7 separate regions of the Homo sapiens genome follow, and regions 2, 3, 4, 5, 6 and 7 are each linked to region 1. Evidence: promoter capture Hi-C in 16 types of primary human blood cells and fetal thymus (Javierre and others, 2016). All regions are on one chromosome and are shown on one strand. Each heading gives the region's core, a stretch centred on a gene start or on the middle of the fragment in contact. The rest is flanking DNA. Distances are from core to core; before and after follow the strand shown. Region 1 holds the start of PCDHA5 (protocadherin alpha 5). Region 2 has its middle 5.1 kb from the start of TAF7. Region 3 has its middle 15 kb from the start of SLC25A2. Region 4 holds the start of LOC105378199 (a long non-coding RNA gene). Region 5 overlaps PCDHB15 (protocadherin beta 15). Region 6 has its middle 2.5 kb from the start of PCDHB12. Region 7 holds the start of PCDHB6 (protocadherin beta 6).

Region 1 (2,865 bases), core at 201-2,700:
TTAGGCAAATAGTCTGGGAAATTGATTTGTGTTTCAACGATCCAAATATTAGTGAAAAGTCATGATAATAGAGATAGTAAAAATCTTATAAGGGAACTGGTAAATATATCTTTAAAGATTGTATCAGAAACAATTCTATGACAATATCTTGTTTCTTTACAAGTTTGAATTCCAGAAATCAAGTGAATTTCCTCTGACTTTGCATTTTCTGGTAATTTCTTTTTTCTTATCAAGCTATATTTTAAATGTAAAAGTATCCAACAATAGAATTGCTAATCTCTTGGTCCCTCTTGTCTTCACAGGTAAGGGATATTTTGTAATATTTAAGGAATTTTATGGAGTATATATACAAGCAGAATGTTAGCTATTTCTTCAATAGAAAACTTGGTGATATTTTCTTTTGCCCATATTTATTAAGTGAAGTTTACTAAATTTTCTAGGTCGTGTTCAAATCATACCATCCAGTAAACAGTTGGGAGATTAAAAAGTAATTAAACTAATATAAAGATAGCCTGGTTAATAAAATGATATTCTTTTCAACATGATTATATTTACTGGAACCTAAACATTTTGTGAAATAGTATGTCATATAGACAATATTAGGATTTTGACTTGTTATGTAAGTACAAAGGTATGTATTTTACAATTTTTAATAATTGCTTTATCAGTAATAGCAACTTGAAGAAATGCTATCTAGATGCTTCTAATTTGAAAATAGTGCAAAGACGATTTACCAAAGTCGTTCTATTATGCTTTTGATTTCTAGAAAGCTGAAATATCCCCATTACAGTTTTTGAGTCAATACAAAAAGTAGATAGGTGTTATAGATAAAGAAATAGGTTTTCATCGATTTGAAAATTAGAACTCCGAGAAGAAACTCAGGTAAGAATGCCATTAAAATAGTTTTAGTTGTTTTTGAAAATAACATCAACAAAATGTCACTATTAAACAGTGAAATTGGAATAAAAATTTGTTTTATGAGTAACACGGAGATAGCATACAAACATTCCATTGACTAATACAGAAAAAACTCAAAAGTTTTAATTAGATATGTTTAAATAGAGATGAGAAAAGTCAAAACTTTAACTCTTAAAAGTTATTTTTATCAGTTTGGAAATATATAAACTCCTCCCTATATAAAATACACCAGCACAAATTTCTCTAGTAAGGATTGGGGTTTCATGACTTTAGATGTATTTTTCTGTAATATTTTAATGACGCACTTATATTGACGCATTTTAAGATAGAGTTTAATGATATATTTTGACTAGAGATAAGTGATTTAAAGAATAAGAATCATGTCATTGAAAGTGAGAATACTTGAGAAATATTGACGAATATAAGCTAAATAAAGCAAAACAAAATAAAACACTTACCCTTTCATCCACATGATGTCGCTGGACACCGGAAGGTTTTTCTCCCTTCCCAGCCTCAAAGGAATACAGTGAGTAGATTTTCCTTAGACAGAAAGGAAAAGAACCTTCCATTTTTGGCTGTGCCAAGAAGCTCAGAAAGGCGATAATATAAAAAATATATAGTTAATTGGGAATTGAATTTACAAAATACATTGTGTGGTGATGCAATAGAAAGCTCATAATTGGAACGAGATTGAGATGGTATATTCCCGGAGAGGAAGTCTGGGATCCCGGCTCCTGCTGCTCTGGCTTCTCCTTGCCTACTGGAAGGCAGGGAGCGGCCAGCTCCACTACTCGATCCCGGAGGAAGCCAAACACGGAACCTTCGTTGGCCGCATCGCGCAGGACCTAGGGCTGGAGCTGGCGGAGCTGGTGCCGCGCCTGTTCCGGGTGGCGTCCAAGGGCCGCGGGGACCTTCTGGAGGTAAATCTGCAGAATGGCATTTTGTTTGTGAATTCTCGGATCGACCGGGAGGAGCTGTGCCGGCGGAGGGCGGAGTGCAGCATCCACCTGGAGGTGATCGTGGACAGGCCGCTGCAGGTTTTCCATGTGGAGGTGGCAGTGAAGGACATCAATGACAATCCGCCCAGGTTCTCCAGACAAGAACAAAGATTATTCATTTTAGAGTCAAGAATGCCAGATTCGCGGTTTCCGCTAGAGGGCGCGTCGGATTTGGATATTGGAGCAAATGCACAATTGAGATACAGGTTAAATCCAAACGAATATTTTGACTTAGATGTTAAAACAAATGAAGAAGAAACGAACTTTTTAGAGCTGGTTTTGAGGAAATCCTTAGATAGAGAAGAAACACAAGAACACCGTTTATTAGTGATTGCAACTGATGGAGGAAAACCCGAACTAACAGGTACAGTTCAGTTGTTGATCAATGTATTGGATGCTAATGATAACGCCCCAGAATTTGATAAATCCATTTATAATGTCAGATTGTTGGAAAATGCACCAAGTGGGACATTAGTTATTAAACTGAACGCCTCAGATGCAGATGAGGGCATCAATAAGGAAATAGTGTATTTCTTTAGTAATCTTGTTCTTGACGATGTAAAGTCCAAATTTATAATTAATTCTAATACTGGTGAAATAAAAGTTAACGGGGAACTGGATTATGAAGACTATAACTCATATGAAATTAATATTGATGCCATGGATAAAAGTACATTCCCATTATCAGGACACTGTAAAGTAGTAGTGAAACTCCTGGATGTGAATGATAATACCCCAGAGATGGCCATAACCACCCTTTTCCTGCCTGTCAAAGAGGACGCTCCACTCAGCACGGTCATTGCTCTGATCAGCGTGTCTGACCGTGACTCAGGTGCCAACGGGCAGGTGACCTGCTCCCTAATGCCCCACGTTCCCTTCAAGCTGGTGTCCACCTTCAAGAATTACTACTCGTTGGTGCTGGACAGCGCCCTGGACCGCGAGAGCGTGT
Region 2 (2,865 bases), core at 223-2,722, 490 kb after region 1:
AGCAATTAAAACCATTTCCCTGATTCCAACTAACCAGAATGATGCTGCTTCTGTTTTTAAGCACATATCCTCCAGAACACATATATTAGAAAATAGTAGCAAAGAACCTTCCAACTTTTTAATGAAGACCACTGCACTTGACATAGCACCTGACATGATGAAACATCTAAATCACATGCTTCTTAAGAATTAGATTGAATGGCCAGATAGGGTTACCAGAGAAAATAAGGGTTGAGTTGGGCCTTCAGTGACAAAAAGCTATCCATGAGAATATCTGGTGACTATTCCAAGAAAAGAGAACTGTAAGTGCTAAACTGTAGGAGGAAAGAGCTGAGTAAATTTGTTTATGCTGCAGATAAATTTGAAGCAAACCGTTTCTGCTGTAACCTAATTTATAAGCTTTCATTTAGAATTTTTTTTCCCATCTGAATTTGGTTGAAACTGATCTCTAAAATTTCTTAAATTTGAAAACAATTACATTTAGAATAGTTGTTTCCCTATAAACACTTTTTCTAACATTTCAGTCACTCTTTAATTATTTAGTATCTGTTATGGTCCATACCTTAATGGGTTGTAATAGTGGTAAATTTACTTCTGTTGTTTACTTACTATGTTCCAGGCATTGTTCTAAATAAGTCATTTATATGATTCAGCAGCCAGCAGCCAACAGCCCAATAACCCTATGAGGTAGGTAGTATTATTGCCTCCACTTTGGAGATGAGAAAATTGAGGTAAACAGATTGCTACCTGTGCAAGGTCACACAACTAATAGGTAACTGAGCTAGGATACGAACCATGCATGACATGTCTTGATGTTAAGATTTTGATCTTTCTACTATTCTTCAGTAAGTTTACAGTCACTAATGTAGCAAAATATCTCAGTAAATTTAAAGCCAAGCAGGAGATACGAACAAAGGTAATTTACACTTTAGTTATAACAGATACTCATCCCAGTAGACCGTGCAGTGCATGAGTTTATAGACACTAAATGCTTTGTTCATCACTGCATATCCAGTAGCTTGTAGTTTGGTGCGCGCGCACACACACACACACACACACACACACCCCTTGTAGTTTGGCACACACACACACAAAATGTTTGTCAAATAAATGAGAGAGGGAAGAACAAAGTGCAAAGCCGTAATAGGGTTGCTTAACCTAGAGGGAGAAAAGGGTCAGAAAAGCCTTGCTGAAGTCACTTAGGTTGAGACCTGAGGGTTAAGTAGGACTCAGACAAAGGGTAAAGTCATCTAGGTGGAGTGAACTGCTTGTTAAAAGGATCTATGGCCCAGGAGTGGGAGAATGAGTAAGCTCCTTGAAAAAAATGTAAGTTCAGAGTGGACTGACCATATACTGAATGCGGAGCTGAGGCTGAAAAGGTAAATGGAGAACTCATAATCTTGTGCATCTTTTTGAGAAATACAAACCTAGCCCTGAGAGCAATGAGATGTCACTGAAGGGTTTTCAGCATGGTAGTAACACAATCAAATATGTCTCAGAAAAATGAGTTTGGTGGCAGTGAAAACTAAATTGGATGGTAAAGAAGCTATTGCCATTTGATAGATAATAATAATGGCTTGAAATAGGACAGTGGCTGTAAGGATGAAGTAGAGTGAGTGAAGAACTTCTTAAGTAAAATCAAAAGTAGCAAGGGAAAGGGAGAAATGTAAAGTTATGGCTCTAGTGTCCAGCTTCCACAGTTGGGATGTGTGGTGGTGCCATTTATTTTTACTGGAACCCAGAAGGAAAAGCAAATTTTCAAGGAAGAGGAAAAGTTCCATTTTGAACCTGTATTTTTTTTTTTGAGATGGAGTTTTGTTCTGTTGCCCAGGCTGGAGCACAGTAGCATGATCTCGGCTCACTGCAACATCCACCTCCCAGGTTCAAGCTATTCTCCCACCTCACCCTCCCAAGTAGCTGGGATTACAGGTGCCCACCACCATGCCCAGCTAATTTGTTTTGTATTTTTAATAGAGATGGGTTTTGCCATGTTGGCCAGGCTGGTCTTGAACTCCTGACCTCAGGTGATCCACCTGCCTCAGCCTCCCAAGGTGTTGAGATATAGGCATGAGCCACTGCACCCGGCCATTTTGAACATTTACACTTGAGTTGCCTGAGAGATACTTTCAAGTATGTTTCTAGTACACATCTGGCTAAACTAAACCTGAAGCACAGAAGAATCAAGGTTGGAAACGTGGATTTTAGAATCCACTTAGAACTCATAACTGAAACAGGAATAGTGAGATCAATATACTATTTTGTTATTGTATCCAGAATCTTTCCTTTCTGTTATTGATGGAACTGCCACCATTGGTGTTGAGACCTTGGTAAGAATAAACTACTTGATAAATGATCCACTGTAAAGCCAGATATGGTGGGAGCTTTTCAGGTGTCAATCTTCTAAGTGTAGCAAAATACCTAGATTACAAAAACAGTAAATTTTGTCACCTAGCATCCTAAACTGTTTTTTTGTTGTTGTTTAATATATATTATTTGGAAACCTCAAGAAATAATATAAAACCTAGATATTGAGGGAAACCTTGCTTAAGCTTACATATTCTGTGCTAAAATCCTAGTCACGGCCAGGCACGGTGGCCCACGCCTGTAATCCCAGCACTTTGGGAGGCCGAGGCGGGTGGATCACAAGGTCAAGAGATCAAGACCATCCTGGCCAACATGGTGAAACCCCGTCTCTACTAAAATTACAAAAATTAGCTGGGCTTGGTGGCACATGCCTGTAGTCCCAGCTACTCCAGAGGCTGAGGCAGGAGAATCGCTTGAACCCAGGAGGCAGAGGTTGCAATGAGCCAAGATAACGCCACTGCACTCCAGCCTGGCAACACAGCAAGACTCCATCTAAAAAAA
Region 3 (2,865 bases), core at 239-2,738, 470 kb after region 1:
AATAAACAGAACATAGATTCTGCAACTGTTGCAGATTTAAGATACCTCTTTGTGGGGCCTTAATGAAAACGTCATAAATACTGGCTGGACCATCTATGGTGGTCAGATGCCCATGGGAAAGGGGTTATTCTCTGATGGAGCCATCTAAAATTGAGGTGCTGATTGGCTCTATATTTCTGATACAGAGAGATATACAGAGACTGGTTGCATTCCTAATTGCACTTTAGGACTGGGCACATCACAGTGACTGTAACCCCTCTCCCCATTCCTGACAGATCAGACTCTGGACCTCCTCTGGAGAAAGTCCCACTGCTGTAGATTTGTGTTTAGATTTCTGGATTGGTTGCAACTTGCAACAATTGACTTACAGCCTGAATCTACTTCCTTCACCTTTTTACTGGAATATTAAGACAATTTGATTGTTAAATGCAGCTGTCCCCAAAAAGGAACTGCTCTTCTCTGGGATGGTAGGCTGGCCACTGGATAAATGATTGTGACTAAAGGGATAAGAGTCTGTGTAAACTTAATTTGAAAAATCTTAGAAAATTCAGGTCATTGTGACCAATTCCTTACCATGATGTGTCTTTCTGCTTAAGTTGTGTAAAAATGTTTTTCTGTGAAAATGCTTTTTTCCCTCTTGCTTATAACCCTTCTGGATGAAAGGCCCTAGTGAGTAGGAGATGATTGAAAATATAAAGTTATAATTGTGAATGGGACACACTGATTTTGTAACAATGGAGAAACCACACCCAGCCCCTGGGAGGCACAGGGAGAGGTTAGGGTGTTAATGATTTTTGTTTTTCAGAACTGCTCCTGGAAGCTTTACCCCCTTCTTGAAGGAGAAGTCCCCATGCTGGCTTTCCAAGCTGCTGCGAGCACTCTGAATTCAAACAGATTGCTGAGCCCATGGTCACAGGTGACTATGAGACGGCAGAGGAACACTTCCAGATGTCACCCACACTTATGAGATGGATGAAGTGATATTATGCATGAACAAAACTGTTTGGAACTGACTGCCTCAGGCAGTCGTTATGAATCTAAGGACTGACCTGTGTTATTTGGACTGCACTGAGAATCCTGGAGCAGGAGGGCCCACAGTGGAAGGTTACATTAGAGGTCTTCTTAACCTTATTGCCTGACTACTGTATGTCCTGCTTGGGGTGTCCTAACAACTGTAAACTCATTGTTTCCAGGGGTACTGTGTGTGCCCTCTGGGCTTATATTTCTTTTGTGGGTACCCTGACTATCATGACACTGTCTCAGCCCTACAAGGCATTCGGATTAACTTTAACTTACTGGTCAGAGATGTGCTGTGCCTGAGTTGATGCCTTGGGCCAGATTAAAAGAAAAAAAAAGGTTAATATAAAAACTAAAGGAGAAAGACACCTGGCTTTCTAAGATAGACCTTTATGGTTAATGGGATTTTTTGTTTTGTTTTGTTTTTTGAGACAGAGTTTCACTCTTGTTGCCCAGGCTGGAGTGCAATGGCACAATCTTGGCTCACTGCAACCTCTGCCTCCTGGGTTCAAGCAATTCTCCTGCCTCAGCCTCCCGAGTAGCCGGGATTACAGGCATGTGCCACCACACCCGGCTAATTTTTTGTATTTAGTAGAGACGGGGTTTCACCATGTTGGTCAGGCTAGTCTTGAACTCCTGACCTCAGGTGATCCACTCACCTTGGCCTCCCAAAGTGCTGGGATTACAGGCGTGAACCACTGTGCCTGTTCCCAGGATTTGTTTTAATTGGCCAAATCTAGAAGCCATGGAGGACATAACTGAGGCCAATAATGTAGGCTGATCTCACCCTGCCATGTGGGATCCTATTGATAATAATCTTTTTGTAAAAAATGCCTTGGACAATGACCAAGTGGGTAGAAGAAAAGAGTTAATATAACAGACCTGAGACTACTAAGCCGTCGAAGGCCCTGCTTACAAGGTAGGCCCTTGGCTTGCATTTGGGACTTGGATTCTGAGATTGTCTGCATCATTTCATAACTGATAAAAGTGGTTTGCTGTGCCTAAACTGTATATACAAACAACGTGGCTTATGCTGAACACCTGCTTTCCTTCGGGGAATCTGGGATTTTGCTACCTACTAGGCAGAAGAGGCCCACATGACCAGTCCCCAATAAAAACCCTGGATTCCTAGGTTTAGGCAAGCTTGCCTGGTAGATAACACTTTACACCTGTTGGTGCAATTTGATGCTGGAGGATTTAATCATATTCTGTGTGACTCCAATGGGAGAGGATTCTTGGAAGTTTATACCTAGTTTCCTCCAGACTTTATCTGATATACCTTTTCCCCTAGCTGAGTTTGCCTTGTATCCCTTTACTGTAACAAATCATAGCCACGAGTATGACTACATGCTGAGTTTTGTGAGTCTTAGAAAATTACCAAACCTGGGGTCTTGGGACCCTCTGACGCCAAACCTTTGTATTTATTCTCTGACAAATAAGAGAGTAAGACACATTATAGTGGAAACCCTGAAATGTCCCTTTCCCTAGCCAAGATAGTAAATCATAAGTAATGCTGCATCCTAGGAGGATTTTTAGAGATTAACACTACCTCCTGAGGCTTAAAGTGCACAGAGGTGATAGTCCTCATCAAATTCTCATTTAATTCATTTGTTCACCCTCTGCAAAAACTAGATAGATTGTTGTGATGACAATGGACTGCAATATACTTACTTAACCAAATGGTAGCTCCAATTGCAGCTGTCATGCCAGATGTGGTATCTTTATTGGAGTAGATCAGTATAACTTTGGCAACTTGGTAGGTGGCTATTTTTCTGGTGAACGCACTTGTCTTAAATTCCACCAGGGAATAAAATCAAAAGCAGTCATCTTCTCATGATAAGAAAACAG
Region 4 (2,865 bases), core at 213-2,712, 450 kb after region 1:
ATATAGGACAGGCATCAATAGCATCTGCTATACTGCTGCATTTGGTTGTACAAGCAAAGGGTTGAGAAGTAGCTGTGGAAGGAAGGTTCAGCATTCCAGTGTCACCAGGAGCAACAGCCAGATTGAGTGTTCCTGTATCTAGGAGCAACTGTGTGGGTATTGAGAGGTGGTAGCAACAGTAGAAGTGGCCTACTAACCCTGGGTCACAGGTGTAGCAAGTTGTTCTTGGAACTCAATAGTTCCTGAGTTCCACTTATCCACACATTCCAATGATGCTATAAAAATCTAATTATCTCTGTTAAATATTTTTCTGCTTAAACTGATTAGAGTTGTTTTTGTTATGTGCCCTGAGCCCCAAAAATATATTTTGTACCAGAATTTGCAGGCAACAAACACCGAAGAATGAAATTTAGGATAGATTATATGACCTAGATAGATCAAAGGCAATGATAGTCCCATATCCTCTAGAAAATAAGATATTGGTAGTCCCTGGTAAGCAACAGCAAAACATTTACTCAGGTTATCACTTGTGTTTGTCTGGAATTAATTGCTTATTGAAGGTAATTCTCTGGTAAGCAAAGTGGCTGGTGTACCAAAGCATTATGGTGGGGAAGAGAAAGGTTCAGGGGATGTGGTGATTACTTTTGACTGCAATCGAGAATTCAATTAAAGAAAATAACGAACTTAGGGTTTTAAAATTCTTGGGTCAGGAAAGATATGAAAATCAAATATTTTAATGATTGCTTTAAAAACATCTCTTTTATCCCACGGCTACAGGACTACATAGATAAAAATCAGACAAAAAGTCTGATTCTTCAGGTTGATAAATAATTACAAAGTTGAATTCACAACCACTGCATGTTTTTTAATGAAATTGCTAGAGCATTGATCCAGAAAGAGTAGTATCCTTAGAATGGGAATGGGGACAGCTAGGTGAATTCAGATGTGATTGTATCTTGAATCCCCAAACCAATTGAGCCCTTTTTTATCCCAGCAGAAGCAAACTCATTTTCCTTTTTAATAAGACTGTCCTCTTTGCATGCATAGTCTGTAATGACCTCAGCTGAGACAGTTACATTGCAAAGGGTTGCTAATTTTCTCCATGCCCTTCATTTGCCAACTCTCATTGCCTCTAGACCTCTAATTAGATTCATATCCTAGCATGTTCAATGGGGACAAGCACAAAGCCAGTCCCAATATTAGAAGGCATATATACTGAAAGAATTGCATAATTTTGCTAACTACATCACAGAAACCTTAGGAATATGTTTGAGAACTGAGTATGCTATAACAGAAAACAAAGAAAAAACCTTTAGATTGAGTTGAATTTAGGTGGGTTCGTTTGCCAGAGATTCTGAATTCAGTGTTCAAGCTTTCACATGATTATCTCTAATAGTTCTTTTGGTCAGCTGACTCAATTCAATGACAGCCACAATTTAACAAAGGAAATTAAGATGCTAATAATGCCTTAGGATAATGTTATCCAGCAAAAGGGACTCACTACCTGATATGCTAGAAGCCAATAATATGACACTGCATTTTTGAGAAAAGAAAAGCTTTATATTGAAAGTCTTTGTTATAGCAACAAACACACAAAGGAAAGAAAATGGATTCCCAAGGAGACAGGAGTAAACGTCAAGTGTCTTCCCATGCTGGCTTTCAGGCAGTAATTTTGTTAGAAATGCTTTACGGGGCTGGGCGTGGTGGCTCACGCCTGTAATCCCAACACTTTGGGAGGCCGAGGCGGGTGGATTACCTAAGGTTAGGAGTTTGAGACCAGCCTGGCCAACATGGTGAAACCCTGCCTCTACTAAAAATACAAAAATTAGCCAGGCGTGGTGGCGTGCGCCTGTAATCCCAGCTACTCAGGAGGCTGAGGCAGGAGAATCACTTGAACCCGGGAGGTGGAGGTTGCAATGGGCGGAGATCACACCACGGCACTCCAGCCTGGGCGATTGAGTAAGACTCCGTCTCAAAAAAAAAAAAAAAAAAAGAAACAAAGGAAGAAAAGAAAAAGAAAAGATTTAGGGGGCAGATTCTGAGAGCGGTGATTAGCGGAAGGAAAGGGGAGGCATGGGAAGTCCTTGGGCATGTGCACTTACCTCTTCATGCCTCCGCAAGGGTCTTTGTGCGAATTCGGGGGAGTTAGTATGAAACCTGTGGTGGAAACTCAGGCTGCGATCTCAGCAAGCTCATTCTGTGCAAACTCCATTTATCTATCTAGGTTACAACCGATTTCAGCCAGTTCATTTCTTTTAAGCAGAGGGAGTCTCAGTGTTTCAGCAAGTTGTTTCTTATCTGCCATTATGAAAACTCAAGAATTTCTGTTAGTTACTGGTTTCTTTAACTCTTTGGGGCACAGTTTCAATAGTGTAGAGGAAAAAAAAACAAAAACAAAAAAAAAAAACAAAGACTCAGGAAAATAAATCTCTATTTTTTTTTCTTTTTTCTTTTTTTTTTTTGAGACGGAGTCTGGCTCTTTCGTTTCGCCCAGGCCGGACTGCAATGGCGCTATCTCGGCTCACTGCAAGCTCCGCCTCCCGGGTTCACGCCATTCTCCTGCCTCAGCCTCCCGAGTAGCTGGGAAAATAAATCTCTATTTTTATTCTTGCCCTAGGTATCACAAATGTTAGGGGTGCTCCTGCTCCTCTGAGAGTCATACAAGGTTCTAATTATCTCACCATCCCATAGGACATCACATTTTTCCAGCACGCTAATGGGATCATGCTGATTGTACCTCTTCAATAGCAAGTAACATGTGCCCTAGATGCCTTCGTAAGACGTATGTATGGCAGAAGAGGAGATAAGTAAGCCCCACAACAATTTAAGGAACTGTCCTCTCTGAAGTTTTGGGGGATTCAGAAA
Region 5 (2,865 bases), core at 101-2,600, 430 kb after region 1:
GAATGGTATTGCATGCAAAATAATGACCGCCAAGATGTTCCTGCCCTAATCCCCAGAACCTATGAATATGTTATATTGCAAAGAAATTAAGGTTCAAACAGAATTAAGGTTGCCAATCAGCTAAACTTAAAATAGGGAGACTCTCCTAGATAATCTGGGTGGGTCTATTTCAATCAGTGGAAAGGCCATAAAAGCAGAGTTGAGTCTTCCGTGAGATGAAAATAAATTTTGTTTAAGGACAGCAGCTTCAGCTTATGCCCCAGAATTCCAGCCTGCCCCTCCTAACTGCCTGCTGTACAGATTTTGGACTTGTCCAGCCACGTTTCAAAACTGAGTAAGTCACTTCCTTGCAATAAATTGATTACTACACATCTGCTGCCTGTTTCTCTGGCTGAACTCCAACTAACACAGATTTTGATACCTGGAAGTGGGGTGCTACTGTAATAAACACTTAAAATGTGCAGATGGCTTCTGAATTGGACAGTGGGCAGAGGCTGGAAGAACTTTGACAGGCATGACAGAAAAAGCCTCGCTTGCTTTGGACAGAGTGTTAGCAGAAATATGGTGTTAACAAATCTGCTAGTAAGGACTCAGAATGAAGTGAGGAGCATGTTGGAGAAACATGTTGCCTTAGAGAATACCACATCACTTTAAATAGATTGTGAGTAGAAATATGGATGTTAAAGTCTCTGCTGGTGAGGGTGCAGAAATGAGGAAAATATTATTGGAAACTGAAGAAAAGGGAATCCTTTTATATGGTGGAAGAAAAATTAGCTGAATTGTGTCCTGTAGTTATGTAGAAAGAATTTTTAAGCAATGAACTTGGGAGATTTCACTGAGATTTTCAGGCAAAGGGTTAAATGTACAGCCTGTTTTTTTCTTGCTGCTTATAGTAAAATGTGAGAGGGAAAAGAATGAGAGGAATTAGATTGAGAGAAGAACTGTGAAGCAAAAAGGAACCCAGACTTGATGGTTGGGGAAATTCTCACCCTATTCAGACTGCAACAGATGTTAAGATCAGGAGATTCACTGCTAAGGATGCATGTTTTGGAGAGAAAGCCACAGACATATCAGGACAACCTTTTACTAGTGCGTTGAAAGAATCAGGTAGTCAATCATACAGAAGGCTCTTTGAAGAGACTAGGTACATGACATGGATATCTTCAGCCACATCAGCAGAAGCCAGGAATATAGACATAATTACTCAGGAAATAACTTCGAAGGAGTCTCTTGTTTAATAAATTGAATCCCTGTGAAATGCACAGGAAATAAGGTTATTGAGAATGTTTAATCAGCAGAAACACTGCCAGCTTGAATTGAAAGGGATAGAGAGAACTAATTAAAGGAGGATGTGGTACCCCCCTCCCCAAACTCTGTAAGCTAGAAATAGACTGATAAAACTGCTTAGCTAAAAACATGTGCCAATTCCAATGAAAAAGGAAGGATGCATCAGAGGATGGAGCCTGAAGTCCAGAGAGTACAGCTCTCAAAACACAGAGGATTAGTCCCAAGCCTTGAAAGCAGGAGTTTCCCTGGATGTATTGCCACATTCATTGGTGCAGGTGATTTTTTTTTTTTTACTTTTACTTTTTTACACAGTTGCCAGACTAGGTTCCAAGTTGTCTACTTAAAATGTATGAGGCATTTGTCAGAGAAGTAATGAGGTAGGAGATCAGCAGGACTTATTCCCCTATCAGAACAGGACAAAATGAAGAAATTGACAGGAACCAGCAGGTGGTGCACAACTGAAGTGAAAAACCCTGCAGGAAGTAGCAGCTGGTGTTGAAGGCAACCTCTAATTGCCCTTACTGCTCATTAGCATAAGAGATTCCCACCAGCCCCATGACAATTTACAAATGTCATGGCAACCCAGAAGTTACTGCCCTTTTCCATGGCAACAACCTGGAAGTTACTGTCCCTTTTTCTAGAAAGTTCTGAATAACCAGCTCCTCAATTTGCATTAACTCACCTCTTAATTTGCATGTAAGTGAAAATAGGTATAAGTGAGTATAAATACAGTTGCCAACAACCCATAAGCTGCTACTGCCAACTCTGGGTGCACTGCAAAATAGTTAGTCCTGCTCAGCAAGGAGCAGTCCCTTTTAATAAAAGATTGCTGTCTAATAACACCTGATTGCCCTTGAATTCTTTTATGTGTAAAGCCAAAAGGCCTCCTGGGATAAGCCCTAATTTGGGGCCTTGCCTGTCTTGAATCAGTCATATTGTTTTCCCTGGGGTGTTATCAAGGGACAGTACTCTGAACTACTGCAATTAAATTTATGCCATCATTCAATCATCTCACAACTGGCAAACATATGCAAATAACTGAATTTTCAAGAAATATTCCTGGCTAGTAGCATCTTCAAAAGCTGACTTTGGAGAACAGAATCAGAAAGTGAACGGATAAATGCGAGGCACGCTTTTACATCTGGACTTAACGGTATCCTGAGCAAGATGACTAAGATGTTTATGCAGCAATCCAGAATACCCTGCCCCCATCACAGGCAATAAGTAGCAAGGCTAAAAATTTTACTTAGTAAAATTGACTAAATATGGATCCTGAAAATATTCATAAGCAGATCAGCAGTCCATGTGTTTTTGTGGATTATGGCTATTTGAAGGATAAGTTCCAATTCTCCTCTATGTCATGCATAGCACCTAGAACAATTTTGAACATGAGTGACAATTCATTGTTTCTTAGTGAATAAAAAAATTAAGGACAGTGAAATAAGTTTTTTGGAAACTAGCAGAATAGAGACTCTCATCAACATAAACAGAGCCATTCATTTTACCTATTTTCTCTTTCAGATTTTGTAGACTTCTTTTGAGATTTCTGTAAGTCTCACCTTGCCTTTTATGATGTTA
Region 6 (2,865 bases), core at 193-2,692, 380 kb after region 1:
TATTGCTAAGCTTTCTTCAAAATACACATTAGTGTAGTGTGATTAAATTTCCTTTCTTGAGAAACATTTTTCCTAGAACTGAAAATTGTTTTGTACTTACATAATTTTCCATTTACTAATATTAGTTTCTTTACATTCTCTAATTTGAATCTCTTTCTTCTCAAAATATTCAAATATATCAGATACCTGTCAATTATGTTTATTTCTTGGTGATCTTGCACCCAGATCTCTACTTCATTCATACTGGTTGCTCTATAGGCTGTCACCCTAGGACTTTAAAAAATATTTTTCTTTGTTGGTCCTTTTTTATAAGATCCAGTACATTCTTCTTTCTTAGTTTACTCACTTATTTTGTTGATGCACATCTCTCAGTACCTTCATAAAAATGGATACAGAGGAAATAAAACTTTTTGAGAGCTTGCTTTGTTATTTTCTTTTTTTTTATTTGATTGATAGTTTGGGCATAACATTCTAGGTTGAAAATAATTTTCCCTCAGATTTCAAAAGCACTGCTCCTTTTATTGACTGCATATAGAATTGCTGTTCAGAAGACTGATTCCATTCTGATTCCTATGTCTTTTTATGTGATTCCCCCCCTTTTTTTCTTTCTTTCTGTGAGCATTGAAAAAAATTCCCCTGGTCTTCTGAAAATACCTTAGTACTGGCTCTTTATTGATTAATCTGGTTATATCGCTATGCCCTGTTCATGTTTAACTTTTCTTTTTTTTTTAAGATGATGTCTCACTGTGTTACCCAGGCTGGAGTGCAGTGGCTATTCACAGGCACAATCACAGCACCCTGCAAGCTCTAACTCGAGAGCTACTTCTGCCTCAGCCTTCCAAGTTGCTGGGACTACAGGCATGTGCTAGACCCCTTGGCTAATGTTCAGACTATCAATTTTATTTCTGAGAAATTTTGGTTGGGCATGGTGACTCACACCTGCAATCCCAGTACTTTGGGAAGCTGAGGCAGGATTATTTGAGGCCCCGAGTTTGAGACCACCCTGGGCAACATAGTGGGAACCTATCTCTACACAAAAACAATTTGTTAAAAGGAATTTCCTTGGTATGTTTTACTCATAATTTCTCCTCTGAGTTTTCTGGATTCTCACTTCAATGAAAATCTCAGTTAAATATTAGACCTCCTAGATTGACTCTATAAGACTATAAGCCATTTTTCCTTTCTTATTTTCTCTTTGCCTCTCATTCCATTTTTTGGACAATTTATTTAATCACTCAATGTTTTATGTATAAGTTTTTCTTTATGACTGAAAAATATTTACTTTTAAGAGTTGTTTTTGGTTCTCTGAATGTTTTTCATGGCATCCTGTCATAGATTTATAAATGTAATATTTTCTCTCATTTATAATTAATCTTTTCTTTAAAAATGCATTAGGCAGTATCATTATTATATATCCATTTTAAAAGTGAAAGTGAGTCTAAGGGGAGTTAAGAACTTGTCCAAGGTAATATAGCTAGTAAAAAGCACTGAAGTCCTAATCTAGTCTTCATCTTACAATAGGAATATGTACTTCATATAGTTACTATTTAGATTAAGTGGATAAATACATACTTCATACAGCTACTATTTAGATTAAATGGATAAATGCATTATGAGGCACTTAGAACAATGAGTAGCATAGAGTAAATACTAAATAAGTATTAGCTTTTATTAGATTTTCTTTCTCTGGGAATATTAACCAGACATTTTCAAAGGCTTTCTTCTGCTTTCTATATTATTGTTCCTTTTTTTTTTCTTGATGGTAGCGATGGTGGTAGTTTTGGTCTTTCTATGTTATGTTGCAGGCATTTCCTCAAATGCCTTGGCTATCTTCTCGTATTTTAGAAGGATGATATATCAAAATGCTGACAATCAACTCTGTGAGCGAACAGTACCTGTTGATGGCAGGGCTTCATTCTAATATAACCATGCTAGGATAAGTCTATTACCTTATGAGATGCCAAATATTAATATGTGTCTTCATTTGGGCTTTCATATTCTCCAGGTTAGAATTCTACAATATACACTATGGGGATAGACTAGGGGTCAGGCATACACTTTGTGTCCTACAGTCTAAGAGTATTGCATGAAAAGGGATTAGAAGTCTCACCATGCAAAATGCAAAGGTTTGCTTACTCTCCCTATTTTCAGTTTGACACCTCACACTTGTGCTCAGCTGTGCCTAGATCCCCAAGACTAGAGAAAGTCCCATTAAATTTCTCCAGAGAATAAACTTTCTATTTTCTGGCTGTGAGTTATGTTTCCATCTATGTAGGGTGATGAGAAGAACAGAGAATTCAATTATCCTCTACACATACTTCCAACTAATAACTTTTTTCCATCCTTAACTGACTTCAGTCTTCTTAAACATCTGGTTCCTCCAGATCTTGCGCTTAAAAGAGATTATGTTTCTTGTGAGTATCTTCAATGCAGGAACTTTACTTTAGGGGCACTTTTTGGAACTGCTAAGTTAATTGCTCTTCCACCTGCTTTCTGTCATAGAAAAATGTATGTGTTCACTTGTGTATTCTTAATCTTTGTTAGTTCCTACCATTTTAATTACTTTTCTGCCATTTTAGTGCATATTTTTTTTTAAAAAGAGAGGTTAATTGTGTGTGCTCAATTCATCTACTTTTCAAGTTTTACCCTTCTGTACCAATTACTATTTCAACCATGTATCCAGCTTACATTTTTAAGAATATTAATTGAATTTAACATTTTAAAATGCAGACTTGTTGGATTCTTCTCCCATCCATTCTTAGTGCACTTTAAGACTTTCTATAGTGAATATCACTGATGAGCCCTTAGCATCTGTTGCAAACAGTCTCCCTCATTTTGTACCAATGAGGTACTTTGGCTAGGACT
Region 7 (2,865 bases), core at 134-2,633, 330 kb after region 1:
AAGGAACAGTGTGTTCCCAGTAGCATCTATCAAGTGAACCCTGGAGGCTGGTCACATTCATAATCTTTTGTTTTTCTGGCTACATAGAGGTGATTTTGAACTACAAGATCATCTCAGCTATTCAGAGTTTAGATTTTATTTAGCCTTATTTGTTTTGCCTAGCATTTATGTATTTGAAAATATCTTGATTTTTAATCTTCTATCACCTTGGCCCTTACCTGAAGTGAACTTTGTTTGAACTCAATTGATTTCACCTCTCAATAAATATGAAATTAATCTGAAATGAATTGAATTGTTTGGCATATTTTACCTCTTCTATGTGCACTAATCTATTTCACACATTTTCAGTTTGTTTAGAGATACATGTTCCAATGTATCTGAGTAGAAACTAGTGAGATGGGAATGGATATAGCCATAATATTCCATCATTGAATTCCATGGCATTCACTCAAATGTAACTCACCTGTTTTAACAGTACCTTAATTTGGCCTGTATTTATTGGACTTGGTGTTCTTTTTGCTGTGAGAAGACGGTGAAGGTGATTCTTGAATGTTTGTTTTCTGTGTTGCATCATGTTTGTACAACACGGTAATATATTTGGACCTTGATTAAATAATGTAAGAGGGGAATTTGATCAAAAAATAAAATGCACAAGACTGTTAAAACAATGTCTAATTCTATCCATGCAAAAATGGAGTAGAATCCTAAAATGCTTATGACAACTACTTGATTGCTTCTAGTCCCTCTTTTAAATACTTTAATTTACTTAGATACATGTATCATACGTACTTCTTGGCCTCAGTTTTCCTCCTAATAGCCTAATTGTTCTTTTTACTGTGCAGGCATAACTATATAACAAAGTAGGTTTTTTTTTTCATGCCATTTATGAGTCATATAATTTAGATAATTTATTGTTTATTTTACCATTATTGTTGCTAACAAACTTCGTTGTTTTGCATTGTTTGTTGGGACAATTAAATAGTGTACCTCTTGGACTAATAGATTAAATAGTTCATCAGAGATAAATTGCACTGCTGAAGCATCAAAGGAGAAAGACTGAAGTGTAGAATCTGCACTTCAATCTTTCTCCTTAATTAGCACCACCAGGGAATTTGATTCAAGTTCTAGAGGGGAGTGAACCCAGGAATTGGCTTAAAAACAAAAACATACACACAAAAAAACCAACGCTCGCAAGCAATTATTTATGCATGCGGTCCACGCACTCAGTTTGAGAAACACTGACTCGACTTAAAAGTCTTTATAATGCTCAGATTTCTGAAATGCTATTGACCTGAAAACATCTCATGAAGTTATTAGTTTGAACGCGTGGTGGCGGTACAAGCTAAGAGAGTGAATGAAAGCTCTGCAGACTCGGTGGACTCCGTTTCATCCAGAAGCCAAGTAAAAATACAGACCACGTTTACAGCTAAAGCTGAGATAGATGTGTCCGGGAAGGCAGTCGTCGCCAGACAAGTTGTAAGAACGAATTTAAAAATCTCTGCAAAGACATCCGAGAGGGTCGACGGTAGATGTGGTGATTGGGAGCTGAAAAGGATTTTTCTTCCGTATTCAGACATAATAGACATGATGCAAACTAAAGTACAGAACAAGAAAAGGCAAGTGGCTTTCTTCATTTTATTGATGCTTTGGGGAGAGGTGGGTTCTGAATCGATTCAGTATTCCGTATTGGAGGAGACAGAAAGTGGCACGTTTGTGGCCAACTTGACAAAGGACCTGGGACTGAGGGTGGGGGAGCTGGCTTCGCGGGGCGCTCGGGTTGTTTTCAAAGGGAACAGACAACATTTGCAGTTTGATCCACAGACCCATGATTTACTGCTAAATGAAAAACTGGACCGGGAGGAGCTGTGTGGCTCCACTGAGCCGTGTGTGCTACCTTTCCAAGTGTTACTGGAAAACCCCTTGCAGTTTTTTCAGGCTTCCTTGCGAGTCAGAGATATAAATGACCACGCCCCGGAATTCCCTGCCAGAGAAATGCTCCTGAAAATATCAGAAATTACTATGCCAGGAAAGATATTTCCTTTGAAAATGGCACACGATTTAGACACCGGCAGCAACGGCCTTCAGAGGTACACAATCAGCTCCAACCCTCACTTCCACGTTCTCACCCGCAATCGCAGCGAAGGCAGGAAGTTCCCGGAGCTGGTGCTAGACAAACCGTTGGACCGCGAGGAGCAGCCCCAACTCAGGCTAACGCTGATCGCGCTGGATGGCGGGTCTCCGCCCCGGTCAGGGACCTCCGAGATTCAGATCCAGGTTTTGGACATCAATGACAACGTCCCCGAGTTTGCTCAGGAGCTCTATGAAGCACAAGTCCCTGAGAACAACCCCCTCGGCTCTCTGGTTATTACCGTCTCAGCCAGAGATTTAGATGCAGGATCGTTTGGGAAGGTATCTTACGCCCTGTTTCAAGTCGATGACGTCAACCAACCCTTCGAAATAAACGCAATCACAGGAGAAATTCGGCTGAGAAAGGCTTTGGATTTTGAGGAAATTCAGTCTTATGACGTGGATGTTGAGGCTACAGATGGTGGAGGCCTATCAGGAAAATGCTCTTTAGTCGTCAGGGTCCTGGACGTGAATGACAATGCCCCTGAACTCACCATGTCGTTCTTCATCAGCCTCATCCCAGAAAACTTACCAGAGATCACAGTGGCAGTTTTCAGTGTTTCAGATGCAGACTCTGGACATAACCAACAGGTTATTTGTTCAATAGAGAACAATCTCCCCTTTCTACTAAGACCTTCCGTGGAGAATTTCTACACCCTGGTAACAGAAGGCGCGCTGGACAGAGAGAGCAGAGCCGAGTACAACATCACTATCACGGTCACTGATTTGGGGACACCA

Evidence for each region. Contacts are between HindIII fragments. The CHiCAGO score rates a contact against its expected background, and 5 or more counts as called.
Region 2: a fragment that was not itself captured here is called in contact with the fragment with the promoter of PCDHA5 in region 1 in 4 of 17 cell types (M2 macrophages, M1 macrophages, erythroblasts and 1 more); the score reaches 13.1 in M2 macrophages.
Region 3: a contact is called between a fragment that was not itself captured here and the fragment with the promoter of PCDHA5 in region 1, in 4 of 17 cell types (M1 macrophages, M0 macrophages, M2 macrophages and 1 more). The highest score is 7.6, in M1 macrophages.
Region 4: a fragment that was not itself captured here is called in contact with the fragment with the promoter of PCDHA5 in region 1 in 9 of 17 cell types (M0 macrophages, erythroblasts, monocytes and 6 more); the score reaches 9.3 in M0 macrophages.
Region 5: a fragment that was not itself captured here is called in contact with the fragment with the promoter of PCDHA5 in region 1 in 7 of 17 cell types (fetal thymus, M0 macrophages, M2 macrophages and 4 more); the score reaches 10.1 in fetal thymus.
Region 6: a contact is called between a fragment that was not itself captured here and the fragment with the promoter of PCDHA5 in region 1, in 5 of 17 cell types (M2 macrophages, erythroblasts, M1 macrophages and 2 more). The highest score is 7.0, in M2 macrophages.
Region 7: a contact is called between the fragment with the promoter of PCDHB6 here and the fragment with the promoter of PCDHA5 in region 1, in 5 of 17 cell types (M1 macrophages, M2 macrophages, erythroblasts and 2 more). The highest score is 10.3, in M1 macrophages.

Annotation. Positions count from the first base shown.
Region 1 is chr5:140,820,163-140,823,027 of GRCh38, forward strand. PCDHA5 (protocadherin alpha 5) reads left to right here and starts at 1,451. Exons shown (of 4, transcript NM_018908.3): 1 at 1,451-2,865. The coding sequence starts at 1,614. All of the region lies in intron 1 of PCDHA1 (protocadherin alpha 1), which reads left to right. The region is part of intron 1 of PCDHA2 (protocadherin alpha 2); the gene reads left to right. All of the region lies in intron 1 of PCDHA3 (protocadherin alpha 3), which reads left to right. It also overlaps PCDHA4 and PCDHA@. The HindIII fragment of the contact is 13,774 bases long and covers 1-2,865 here.
Region 2 is chr5:141,314,235-141,317,099 of GRCh38, forward strand. No RefSeq gene overlaps it. Among named protein-coding and RNA genes, the nearest start is that of TAF7, 5.1 kb to the right of the region's middle. The HindIII fragment of the contact is 2,150 bases long and covers 398-2,547 here.
Region 3 is chr5:141,287,668-141,290,532 of GRCh38, forward strand. No RefSeq gene overlaps it. Among named protein-coding and RNA genes, the nearest start is that of SLC25A2, 15 kb to the right of the region's middle. The HindIII fragment of the contact is 1,340 bases long and covers 819-2,158 here.
Region 4 is chr5:141,266,367-141,269,231 of GRCh38, forward strand. LOC105378199 (a long non-coding RNA gene) reads right to left here and starts at 2,392. Exons shown (of 2, transcript XR_001742473.1): 1 at 2,103-2,392. The HindIII fragment of the contact is 184 bases long and covers 1,371-1,554 here.
Region 5 is chr5:141,248,995-141,251,859 of GRCh38, forward strand. PCDHB15 (protocadherin beta 15) reads left to right here. Exons shown (of 1, transcript NM_018935.4): 1 at 1-371. It also overlaps PCDHB@. Among named protein-coding and RNA genes, the nearest start is that of PCDHB15, 5.0 kb to the left of the region's middle. The HindIII fragment of the contact is 3,908 bases long and covers 1-2,865 here.
Region 6 is chr5:141,204,826-141,207,690 of GRCh38, forward strand. It overlaps PCDHB@. Among named protein-coding and RNA genes, the nearest start is that of PCDHB12, 2.5 kb to the right of the region's middle. The HindIII fragment of the contact is 2,869 bases long and covers 9-2,865 here.
Region 7 is chr5:141,148,674-141,151,538 of GRCh38, forward strand. PCDHB6 (protocadherin beta 6) reads left to right here and starts at 1,384. Exons shown (of 1, transcript NM_018939.4): 1 at 1,384-2,865. The coding sequence starts at 1,585. It also overlaps PCDHB@. The HindIII fragment of the contact is 6,099 bases long and covers 1-2,865 here.